3 separate regions of the Homo sapiens genome follow, and all the other regions are linked to region 3. The links are contacts of gene promoters, found by promoter capture Hi-C in human tissues and cell types (Jung and others, 2019). All regions are on one chromosome and are shown on one strand. Each heading gives the region's core, a stretch centred on a gene start or on the middle of the fragment in contact. The rest is flanking DNA. Distances are from core to core; before and after follow the strand shown.

Evidence for each region. Contacts are between HindIII fragments. The study calls those that stand out against the background at their distance.
Region 1: a contact is called between a fragment that was not itself captured here and the fragment with the promoter of ATOH1 in region 3, in 2 of the 25 tissues and cell types used here (hippocampus and ovary).
Region 2: a contact is called between a fragment that was not itself captured here and the fragment with the promoter of ATOH1 in region 3, in 2 of the 25 tissues and cell types used here (H1 embryonic stem cells and mesendoderm cells).

Annotation. Positions count from the first base shown.
Region 1 is chr4:93,972,174-93,975,746 of GRCh38, reverse strand. No RefSeq gene overlaps it. Among named protein-coding and RNA genes, the nearest start is that of ATOH1, 150 kb to the right of the region's middle. The HindIII fragment of the contact is 9,166 bases long and covers 1-3,573 here.
Region 2 is chr4:94,040,837-94,044,573 of GRCh38, reverse strand. No RefSeq gene overlaps it. Among named protein-coding and RNA genes, the nearest start is that of SMARCAD1-DT, 160 kb to the left of the region's middle. The HindIII fragment of the contact is 3,748 bases long and covers 276-3,737 here.
Region 3 is chr4:93,826,742-93,830,802 of GRCh38, reverse strand. It overlaps ATOH1 (atonal bHLH transcription factor 1), which reads right to left and starts at 2,050. Exons shown (of 1, transcript NM_005172.2): 1 at 1-2,050. The coding sequence starts at 1,876. The coding sequence ends at 812. RefSeq lists an enhancer at 3,228-3,933. The HindIII fragment of the contact is 12,246 bases long and covers 1-4,061 here.

The DNA of each region.
Region 1 (3,573 bases), core at 161-2,660, 150 kb before region 3:
ATTTCAGCTGCATCACTCCACAAGGGATAGAGAGTTTAAAGTTTGAGTTCAGCCAAGTTAACTGCCAGCTAATATAACAACAAACTCATCAAAAACCCCCACAATATTATCTGGAGGAATATAAGAGAATCCCGAGTCTTTACAATATTTCACTGAAAAGATACAATAAATATTTATAATATATCACTCACAGGATGCAATTCCAAATTACTAGACACATGAAACAATAGGAAAATGCAATCCTTATTTATGAGAAAAGGTAGTAATTTGTCTCTTAGGTGATTCAGATACTGAAATTATCAAATAAGGATTTTTTTTTGAGGCAGGGTCTTGCTTTGTTGCCCAGGCTGGGGTGTAGCATCACAGTCTTGGCTCACTGCAACCTCTGCCTCCTGGTCAACCTCCACCTCCTGGGCTCAAGCGATCCTCCTACCTCAGCCTCCCAAGTAGCTGGGACCACAGGTGTGCACCACCAAGCATGGTTAATTTATTTTTTATTTTTTGTAGAAATGGGGTTTCATCATGTTGCTCAGGCTGGTCTCAAGCTCCTGGGCTCAAGCAGTTCATTGCCTTGGTCTCCCAAAGTGCTGGGATTACAGGTGTGAGCCACTGCAGCCAGCCATATAAGGATTTTAAAGCAATTATTAAGCTATATTCAAGGATGTAAAATAAAATATGGCTGCAATGAGCTAACAAATAGGAAATTTCAGCCAAGAAATAGAAACTGTGAAAAAAACCAATTGGAAATTATTAAACTGAAATAAACATATCTAAAGAAATACTGAGAGTTTGAAAGAAGATCAGAGATGATAAATTATCATTGAATTTGAAAGTAGAGCAATAGAAATTATTCAATCTGAAGATCAGAAAGAATAAAGATGAAAAAAATAGAGTCTCAATATCTGTGGAACAATATCAAACAGTCTAACAGATAGTTAATTAGAGTGTAAAATATATTACCAATAATGGCTCAAAAGATCTTAATTTACAGATTTAAAAGTCTATAAATCTTATAAATCTAAAGATCTTATTTATAGATTTAAAAGTCTCACTGCTGAAAAAACATAAAACCACACCTAGATACATTATACTCAACCTGCTAAAAATTAAAGATAAAGAGAAAATATTAACAGAGTCAAAGGACATATGGTATACAGGGGAACAAGAATATAAATGATTTATTATCAAAAACAATGGTATACAAAAAACAGCAGTATACCATCTTTAAGACACTGAAAGAAAACTGTCAACTCAGACTTCTATTTCAATGAAAATATCAGGTATTTAGAAAATTGCTCAAATGTTGGAAAGTAAATAATATACTTCTAAATTACCATGACTGAAGGAACTCACTAGTGAATTTAGATATTTTAACTGACTAACAGTGAACACGGAAAGTTATAAAAAATCTGTGTGATGCAGCTAAAGCAGTGCTTGGAGGGAAATGTATAGCTTTTAAATGCCTGTATTAGAAAAGCAGAAAGGTGTGATACCAATGAAAAGCAGAAAATCATTTGAGAAATTCAACAAAAGCAAAAGCTAGTTGTTTTAAAAGATCAACAAAATTGATAACTCCTAGTTAGAATGATTAAGAAATAAAGAGAGGGACATAAATTATACCTATATCAGGAATTAAGAGAGAATATCACTAGAGATGTTGTAACTATTAAAAGGATAATAAGAGAAAATGTAGACAACTTTATGCCAATAAATCTAACAAGTTAGATTAAACAGATAAATTATTTGAAAAATACAACATATCCAAATTGACACAAGATACAATAGAAAATCTGAAGGGTCCTATATTGTTATACATTTATCAATTGATTAGAAAATTAACATTTCCCTCTTTTTAAAATCTTATACCTGGTTTTATACAACAGGGTGTCAATGTATTTTGTGTCTGCCATTGACCCCTTCTTTAATAGTCAAGTGATTACTCTCAAAATAATGCATGAAAATTTATTTATGCATAATAAAAATACACATGATTACAAAAGAAAATTATTACATTAAAATACAGTCACCAAAAATATATGGTACTCTATTTGCTTGTTTAGTAACACATTAAGTAATAAGATCTATTAGTGGATCTAATAACTATCATTATTTCAAAGTGGTGATGAGTATAAATGCTATTTTGAGACATCTGCAATAACAGTAATAAAATATCAAAACATCTGGGATTTCTGATGGTATTTTATACCCTATTTTAATTTGTTTTTATCATTAATTATTACCTGTTACAGATGTTCTTTGTGACAGTTCCATGTATGCAAATTACATGAACAAATGTCTCCTACTTACAAAGGTGCTTAATAATAATAATAATAATAATAATTTTTCTTTTACCATAGCTTTTTGGTGTGCTCTAAAAATAGTCATAGAAACCAGGTCTGCCTAAGAATACCAACTTTTTGTGAGACTTCCAGAACCTTGTATCTAGAGGTTACATTTTATTTCACATAAAGACTTGAGGCCTGTCTTTAGCGGGAACAGAGTTTGGTTCTGGAATAAGAAATTTGGCTTGATGAAGTGTATCTCATGGCTATTATATGAATTTTGCAAAGAAATATCTGTGTTTTTTTTTTTTTTTGAGATAGGGTCTCACTCTGTTGCCTGGGCTGGAGTACAGTGGCACAATCGTAGCTCACTGTTACCCCAAACTCCTAGACTCAAGCAATCCTCCCACCCCAGCATCCTGGCTAATTTTATTTTTATTTTGTGGAGACAGGGTCTCACTATGCTGCCCAGGCTGGTCTTGAACTTCTGGCCTCAAGCAATCCTCCTGCTTCTGCCTCCCAAAGCACTGGGATTACAGGTATGAGCCACCACCACCAGCCTGCAAAGAAATATTTGAATGAGGGATGGTGGAGGATATGTTAAAATTGCCCTAAAAAGAAGGCAAAATATAAAAGAATGATTCAGATTTAAAAATGGCACAAGAGAAAGAAATACAAATCTTGGATAAATCAGAATTTTCTTTCTCTAACACCTTATCCCATATGAAATAAGAGCTAAGATGTGTTTTTCAGAATATACGAAAGCAAATTTGTTTCTCTTGCTATAGTTATTTTTATTGTTTATTTAACACTTTACACGGATTTCCTATATATGGATATTTGGGGACTTTGTGTCCCCCAGATAGCCCTCTTTTGAATGAAGTCAGTTTTTGTCTTTTTCAGATTGTTGATAAGTTAAAGTCTGCCCTGGGCCTGGGCCTGGATGCTTGTAGGACAGTCAGAAAAAAAGATGCAAGACTGATAGACTATATTTTAAAACTAGGAGACTAAGCAATAAGATGAAAGATATAGCTGAAAAAAGGTTCAGTTAAAGATACAAGATTCTAAGTAATTTTCTATTAGCATAGGCTAAAAGGAAGAGATGAGATGGAATCAGATTAGAATGTCCTACCAGGTTTTGACATTCTCTGGCTTAGCATTAAATTGTGCAGAACAATAGCTATGTGGCCCTGTCCATTGAATTGGGTTTATAGATACCTTTATACCTATAGAATTGTCTTAGGTCAAGAAATATATGTTAATAAAATATTATACAACACTTTTCCTATTT
Region 2 (3,737 bases), core at 900-3,399, 210 kb before region 3:
AAATCACCCGTCTTCTGCATGGATCACGTTGGGAGCTGCAGACTGGAGGTGTTCCTATTCGGCCATCTTGGAACCTATCGGCCTTAAAGGGATCATCTTATTCAATCACTTTCCTGCTTTAAAGTCAAAGCAAAACATAACCAAACAAAACTAAACAAACAAAAAAATCTTCAGTACTTTACCACTAGCCTATTGACTGAAGTCCCAACTCATGGTTTTCCATGTTAACCACTACAGCTTCAATTTTCACTATTGGTACTTCATGCTCCAGGCATATCAAACCTATTTATTTATTTATTTATTTTTGAGACAGAGTCTCACTCTGTCACCCAGGTGTGATCTCAGCTCACTGCAACCTCTGCCTCCTGGGTTCAAGTGATTTTCCTGCCTCAGCCTCCTGAGTAGCTGTGATTACAGGCACCCAGCACCACACCCAGCTAATTTTTGTATTTTTAGTAGAGATGGGGTTTCACCAGGTTGGCCAGGCTGGTCTCGAACTCCTGACCTCAGGTGATCCACCCTCCTCGGCCTCCCAAAGTGCTGAGATTACAGGTGTGAGCCACTGCACCCAGCCATATTAAACTTTTAACCCTTCGAAAGTGCCATGTTTTCTATTTCGCTTCTCAGCTTTGCCTTATGTCTCAGCCTAAACATTTTATCCCACCTTCTCATCCTCTGGTCTCAGACTTACACACTTCCCCAAAAGGTACCCTTGCCTAAAATTCAATTGAGTAGCCCATATTTACTTCCATATATCTTGTGCAGGAATTATTGTCTCCACAACAGAGAAAGCAGAAACTTTGAGAGACTGACTTGCCCAATGGCTCACAGCTACAAAGTAGCAGAGCTAATTCCTAAATCCCAAACTTCTAGGGCTTATTTCATTATTCTACAACATCTCGTAGTATGCTTAGTTTCATCTGGTCAAATGCATGCTCAGATATTATAGAATTATTTCTGTTCCTTGAAAGTTCCATGTGGGTTCATTTCTCTATTTTTCTATGTATTCTTTGTTTCTAGATTAACTTTGTCTTCCTGTCTACCTGGGAAACATTTATCTTCAAGACCTAGTCGTAGAATGTGAAGCATTCTCTGGTCCAGCCTCCCTCTTCAGGGTCATTATGTGGTGTTTTGGTACTTAGTTCTTGCCACTTTTATGAGGTTAATGCTATCTATTGAAATGTCCTATTATATGTTTACCTTTCCTGTTAGACAGTAAGCTTCTTGAACGCAGGTATTTGTCTCCATCACTTCTAGATCCCTGGCACTCAGTACAATGACCAACACATATTAGGTTCCGTATATTTTAAACCAAATCATGGAAGCACATGTAAATTATAGTCGCATGTTCATTTTTCACATTTCTTTTCTCCATGACAGCATGGACATTGTCCACCTTCTTATCAGGATAAGGTATGTAACCTATCTGTGCAAAAAAGGGCCTTGCATGACTTTTCAAAGTTTCCAGTTCCAAGACCTTGTTACTAGAGCTAGGTATTTATATATGTACTAACTGCTGCATGGGAGTTTAATTTCAGACTTTTCTATTTTCATATATTCTCGATATGAGATTGTGGAAATTAATGGAGGCTTCTTGTGTTTTTATTACACACACACACACACACACACACACACACACACTTATTCACAGCCTTTCCAATATCTCCTTCAAGCTGGGGAATTAAGAGCTGTATGAACAGGGGAGGAGGTGAAGAATGAGGAAAAGCAACCAAGGTTGTGTGGTTGAGTGACATGACACGAGAACTTCCTTCTCTGTCTGGTACTCCCAATTTTCAGTCTCTGTCTCCATCTAGGCAATGGGGTGAGAGGGAGCTGCACTGATGGAGAGGCTGCTGTAGGAGCTTTTGTATCAGGTGAAGCACCCATTCTCTGTGTTGTTTGAACACAGACACACACAACTCCCTCATGCTCCATGGTTTGCAATGTACTGCAGCAGTTTACCTTTTGCACAAATGTAAAATCAAGCAGTCATTCATTGTGTGTGGTGGTATAAAGATTTGATGGCTTCCAATCCCCAAGTACAGGCATAACTCATTTTATTGTGCTTTGCTTTATTGAATTTGGCAGATATTGACCTTTTTACAAATTGAGGATTCGTGGCAACCCTGCGTTGAGCAAGTCTGTTGGCACCATTTTTCCAACAGCTTATGTCACTTTGTGTCTGTGTCACATTTTGGTAATTCTTGCACTATTTCAAACTTTTTCATTATTATATATCTGTTATGGCTATCTGTAATCAGTGATATGTGATGTTACTATTGTATTTGTTTTGGAGCACCATGAATTCTGTCCATACAGGACAGCAAACTTAATTGATAAATGTGTGTACTCTGACTGCCCCACCAATCAGCTATTCCCCAGTTTCTCTCCCTCTTTTGGGGCCTCCATATTCCCTGAGACACAATACTGAAATTAGGCCACTTAATAACTCTATAATGGCCTCTAAGTCTTCAAGTGAAAAAAAGATTCACACACCTCTCACCTGAAATCAAAAGCTGAGAATGATTTAGCTTAGTGAGGAAGGCATGTTGAAAACTAGATAGGGCCAAAGCTAGGCCCCTTGCACCAAACAATTAGCCATGTTGTAAATGTAAAAGAAGAGTTCTTGAAAGAAATTTAAAGTGCTACTCCAATGAACACACAAATGATAAGAAAATAAAACAGTTTTATTGCTGATGTGAAGAAAGTTTGAGTGGTCTGGATAGATGATCTAACCAGCCACAGCATTCCCTTAAGTCAAAATCTAATCCAGAGTAAAGACCGAATTCTTTTCAATTCTAGGAAGGCTGACAGAGATGAGGAAGCTGCAGAAGAAAAGTTAGAAGCTAGCAGAGGTTAGTTCATGAGGTTGAAGGAAAGAAGCCATCTCCATAACATAAAAGTACAAGGTGAAACAGCAAGAGCTGATGCAGAAGCCACTGCAAGTTATCCAGAAGGTCTAGCTAAGATAATGGATAAAGGTGGCTACACTAAACAAAGAATATCTATGTAAACAATATAGTCTTCTATCGAAATAAGATGCCATCCATTAGCTTTTATAGCTAGAGAGAAGTCAACATTTAGCTTCAAAGCTTCAAAGGATAGGCTGACTCTCTTGTCAGGGGTTAATGTAGCTGGTGACTTTCAGTTGAAGCCAGTGTTCATTTACCATTCTGAAAATCCCAAAACCCATACATATTAAGCTAAATCTACTCTGGTTATGCTCTATGAAGGAAAACAAAGCCTGGGGGGACAGCAAATCTGTTCATGGCTTGGCTTACTGAACATTTTTAGCCCACTCTTGAGCCACACTCCTCAAAAAAAGATTCTTTTAAAAATATTACTACTCGTTGACAATGCACCTAGTCACCCAAGAGCTCTGATGAAAATATACAGGGTGATTAATGTTGTTTTCATGCTTGCTAACACAGCATCCATTCTGCAGCCCATGATCAAAGAATAATTTTGATTTTCAACTCTTACCATTTAAGAAATACATTTCTTTAGGCTATAGCTGCCATTGATAGTGATTTCTGTCATGGATCTGGGAAAAGTAAATCGAAAACTTTTTGGAAAGGATTTACTATTAAAAACATTCACGATTTATGGGAGGAGGTCAGAATGTCAACATTAGCAGAGGTTTGGACAAAGTTGATTCCAACCCCCATGAATGATTTTGAGGGATTCAGTACTTCAGTGGAGGAAGTAACTGAGATGTGGTGAAATAGCAAGAGAAC
Region 3 (4,061 bases), core at 801-3,300:
ACAAAGCAAAATAAAATTGACCAAATGCGTTTGACACTACTAGATTTTTTTTAATTTTTCATTTTTTAAACAAACATTTGCAAAGAGCTTAAGAATTATAAGTGGCTGTGTTTAAAAAAAAAAAAACTGGTCTGCAATTGGCAGTTGAGTTTCTCCTGGAGCCACCACCGCAGCAGCGGCTGATAAAGTGCGTGCGCGGAGTTTCCTAAAAGACGCCAACGTTCTCGCGATCGGATGCACATACTGGGTATGTTTATACAATATATAAACCTTAAAGTTTCTTGTTTTCTAACAATTCCATAGTCAAAAGTTATCCACTTTGGAAGCACTAATTTTGCGTTTCATTGTGCATTTTGGAAAACAACTTCGGAAGACTAAATCTCCCACACTTGAGTGCGCAACACACAAGGATGGATGCCCAGGGCGTAAAATAAATTAAACCCAAACCAGTGACAGAGAAGATGCGACGTTTTAGCAGCGTATTGGCAGCAGGGAACTAGAATAATGATGCCATATACGGGTACCTACAATTATACCGTATCTATCTAAAGGGGGAGCAGAAGGTGGGCGGAAAGGACACAATTTTAACAGAAAGTTTTCATCAAACAATATGGACCGTAGGAAGTTTGGAACAGCGGCGGCATTTGCAAACCATCAAATGTAGCTGCCATCTGAAGCCAAGTCGTTGCTAAACAACGACCATCGCAGAGCAAAAATTAAAGGGTGCGGGGATCTTTAACCGCGGGGCTTCCCGCGCACTGGGAAAGGGCAGTTTTGTTTCTGTCTCAGTTTTCAGGCTTCTGTCACCTTCCTAACTTGCCTCATCCGAGTCACTGTAATGGGAATGGGGGGAAAATTCCCCGTCGCTTCTGTGGGACCGAGGCGAAGTTTTGCTGTTTTCCTCCTGCACTGGCTGCAAGATGCTCCCGGGGAGAGAAGGAGACAAATTCTTTTGCGCCATCATCGCTGTCAGGGCGCTGTCCTCGAAAGTCGAGAAGTGCAGAGCGTCCAGCTGCACCGAGTACCCTCCCGCAGAAGCTGGGGCTGAGAAGCGAGTCCGGCAACTCCCGGGCGGGGTCGGCCGCTGGCTCCCTCCGGAAGCCTGCTGAGCCCCAGCTGCGGTCGCGTTGCCCGCGCCCCCTTCATAGGAGGCCGCGGTGCGAAGGTGGTGGTGGTCGCTTTTGCAGGAGGCTGGAGGCGGCGGTGGCTGTTCCCCTCCGCTGGGCGTTTGTAGCAGCTCGGACAAGGCGTTGATGTAGATTTGGGCCATCTGCAGGGTCTCATATTTGGACAGCTTCTTGTCGTTGTTGAACGACGGGATAACATTGCGCAGCTGGTCGAAGGCGTGGTTCAGCCCATGCATCCTGCGCCGCTCCCTGGCGTTGGCTGCTAGCCGTCTCTGCTTCTGCACCCCATTCACCTGTTTGCTGGAAGGGGCCCGTTGGCGGCTGCAGCCCAGCTCGTCTACCACCACCCCGCCTTTCAGCTTGCACAGCTGTTCCCGCACTTTCACCGGCCCGGGGCTCTTGCTGCTGCTGGCACCGCCGCTGCTCCTCCTTACCAGCTCCCCCCGGCCGTCCACCTCGTCCCGGGGCGCAGCGGCCTCTGAGGCACCCAGCTCCGGGGAATGTAGCAAATACTGGGCGGCGCGTGCCGTGCAGATGCCCTGCAAAGTGGGAGCCAGCCAGGCGCGTGGGTCGGTGCTGTCCAGGAGGGACAGCTCAGGCGGGTAGACGGGATGCTCTCTCGCCTGCAAAGTTGCAGGTGGCTGCGGCGGCGGCGGCGGTTGCGGGAGATGATGCGGCTGGGGCTGGCGATGGTGGTCTCCCAACTCCTTCACTTCAGCCCACTCTTCTGCATGCAGCAGGCGGGACATTGCACTGCAAAGGCTCGGAGGCTCAGGATCGGAGGCAGCACTGGGACACCAGCTCAACCAAAAAAAAGGCCCTTTCCGGGTCTCTTCTGCAACGTCTTATTTTTTTTTCCCTCCTCGACCCTCCCCCACCCACTCGGAGATCACACACCAGGTCGCGTGCAACTATGCTTCTCCGGTTGCTGAAGGCGCTGCGCCCCTTTAAAAAGCGGCACGCGCCACTCAGTCTCCCCCCGCTCCTCTCCCAACCCCCTCCTCGCGCCGGTCGCGTGTCTTCTCAGCCAATGGAGGGCGCGGGCAGGCGCGTGCGAGCAGCCAATCAAAGAGTTTTTACACCCCGAGAAAAGTTCTTGTGTGCAGAGGACTCCCAAGCCTGCTCAGGTTTTTTTTTTTTTTTCCTTCTTTTAAATTCGTCAGATTCATATGTTAATTGCAGGGCTGTAATTCGACTCCGGTGTGTGTCACCACCCCGGCGGCTGGGGTGCGGGAGCGGTGCGGAGCCGGCTCTCGGCTGGTGCCCAAGCTGACTCGGGTCAGATGTGCACGACCGCGGGCGGCTCTGGGCGATTCTGGACCCGCCAGGCGCCCAGAAGCCACTCAAAGCAGAGAGAAGGCCGCCTACCCTGTGCTGCCCCCAAGCTAGGATCACAGCTCCCACTTCTGATGCCCAAGCATTTACGATTTCTCATGTATAATAGGATGTTTGTATTTATGTATGCAGGTATTTATAAATCTCTCATGCATGTTCATAGATATATAACTGCTACATGACGTCCATCATTTAAGATTGCTGTTGGAATAAAGGGGGAAAACCCACTCGTCTCAGAGTATGTTTCTTACTTTTGCTCCATCTTTTCATTTTTTACTTCAGATCTCTTAGTTCGACTTCGTCATATGATCTTTTTCTTAATGGAAAATAGAGCTGCGGTGTAGTGATAGCACACCAAATTCCAGATCCCCCAATTCTCTCTGTCCCCTTTCCCCAGCACCCTGCGGCCAATTAGGATTGTAATCTGCCTAAATCTCTCCGTTGAGTGTAATTTAGGGCCAGAATATTTTACGGTATTATGCAGAGTTTCAACACACACAGTAGGACTCCTCATTAAATGCCCAGCCAGGGGAGGGTGCCCAAAGTAAAATGAAAGGCGCCTGCATTCCCTGCAATCCTTAACACTTTCAAGGCACAGAAGTCCCAAGTTACCTACCCTTTTGCCTCGATCGCCCTCTCTTTACTGCGGGCTCGTGGCTTCCTCAGTTTAACCTCCTCCCGCCCCTCCGTTTAGTTAGGGTGGGCTTCCCCTTTCCAGCCCCCACCCCCACCCCACTCCGCCCCATACAATCAGGGAGGTCCTTGGCAAGGGGGGGAGGCCAATTCCCAGGTGAACGCCCCCTCCGGTCCTATTAGCCTCGGCCTAGTCTATTCACAGCAAAGAGCCAATCAGAAGCTCATTGGCCCTGGGCGCGCCCCAGCTTGCGCCCAGCGCGCCCTGGCTCTGGCTCCGGGCGCTCTCCTGCACCGCCCCTGGGGCGCGGGAGTGCGATGCAACCTGTTGATGCTACTGTTGCTTTTACTTTCCCAGTGGCTGTAATCCCGAAAGGAGTCTCATCCTCTAGGAGAGATGTTAAAAAAGAGCCCAAGAGATAGCTCCCTGGAATATGTCTTTGCAATGTCCAGAGGCAGTTGAATGTTGTTTTCGCAAACATTTGCCGGGGCTTGATCTAACCTGTCATCTAGAACTCCTTGGGCAGTAGATTTTCTGGGACTGGACTGGACATATCCTATAAAGATACAGAATGGCAGAATAGGGTGCTAAAATGATGTTTAAGACATTATTCTTCACCTGTTTCTTCTTCAACCTCGTCTGTTTGCTGGTGTCTAGGAATAGTCTTGGGCGTATCTTACGTGCCAGAAACTTCAGAGCTTTATTCTTGTGTGAATGTTTGGGCTCTGCTGAAATAAATGTTAAAGACACACAAAAGCAACAACAAAAAACAAACCTAATCTGAAAACCATCCATGAGAACAAAGAAAAAGAAAAGGCCATCTAATGTATTTTTTTTTTTTTGGGCAGAAAATTCTCCGTTTGGTGATTGAAGTGGGTGTTATTGAAATCGACTAATAATGCTGTTACTATAAATAGTGCTACCATATAAAATGTGCTTCTTGAGAAAATAATTGCTAGTAGCTG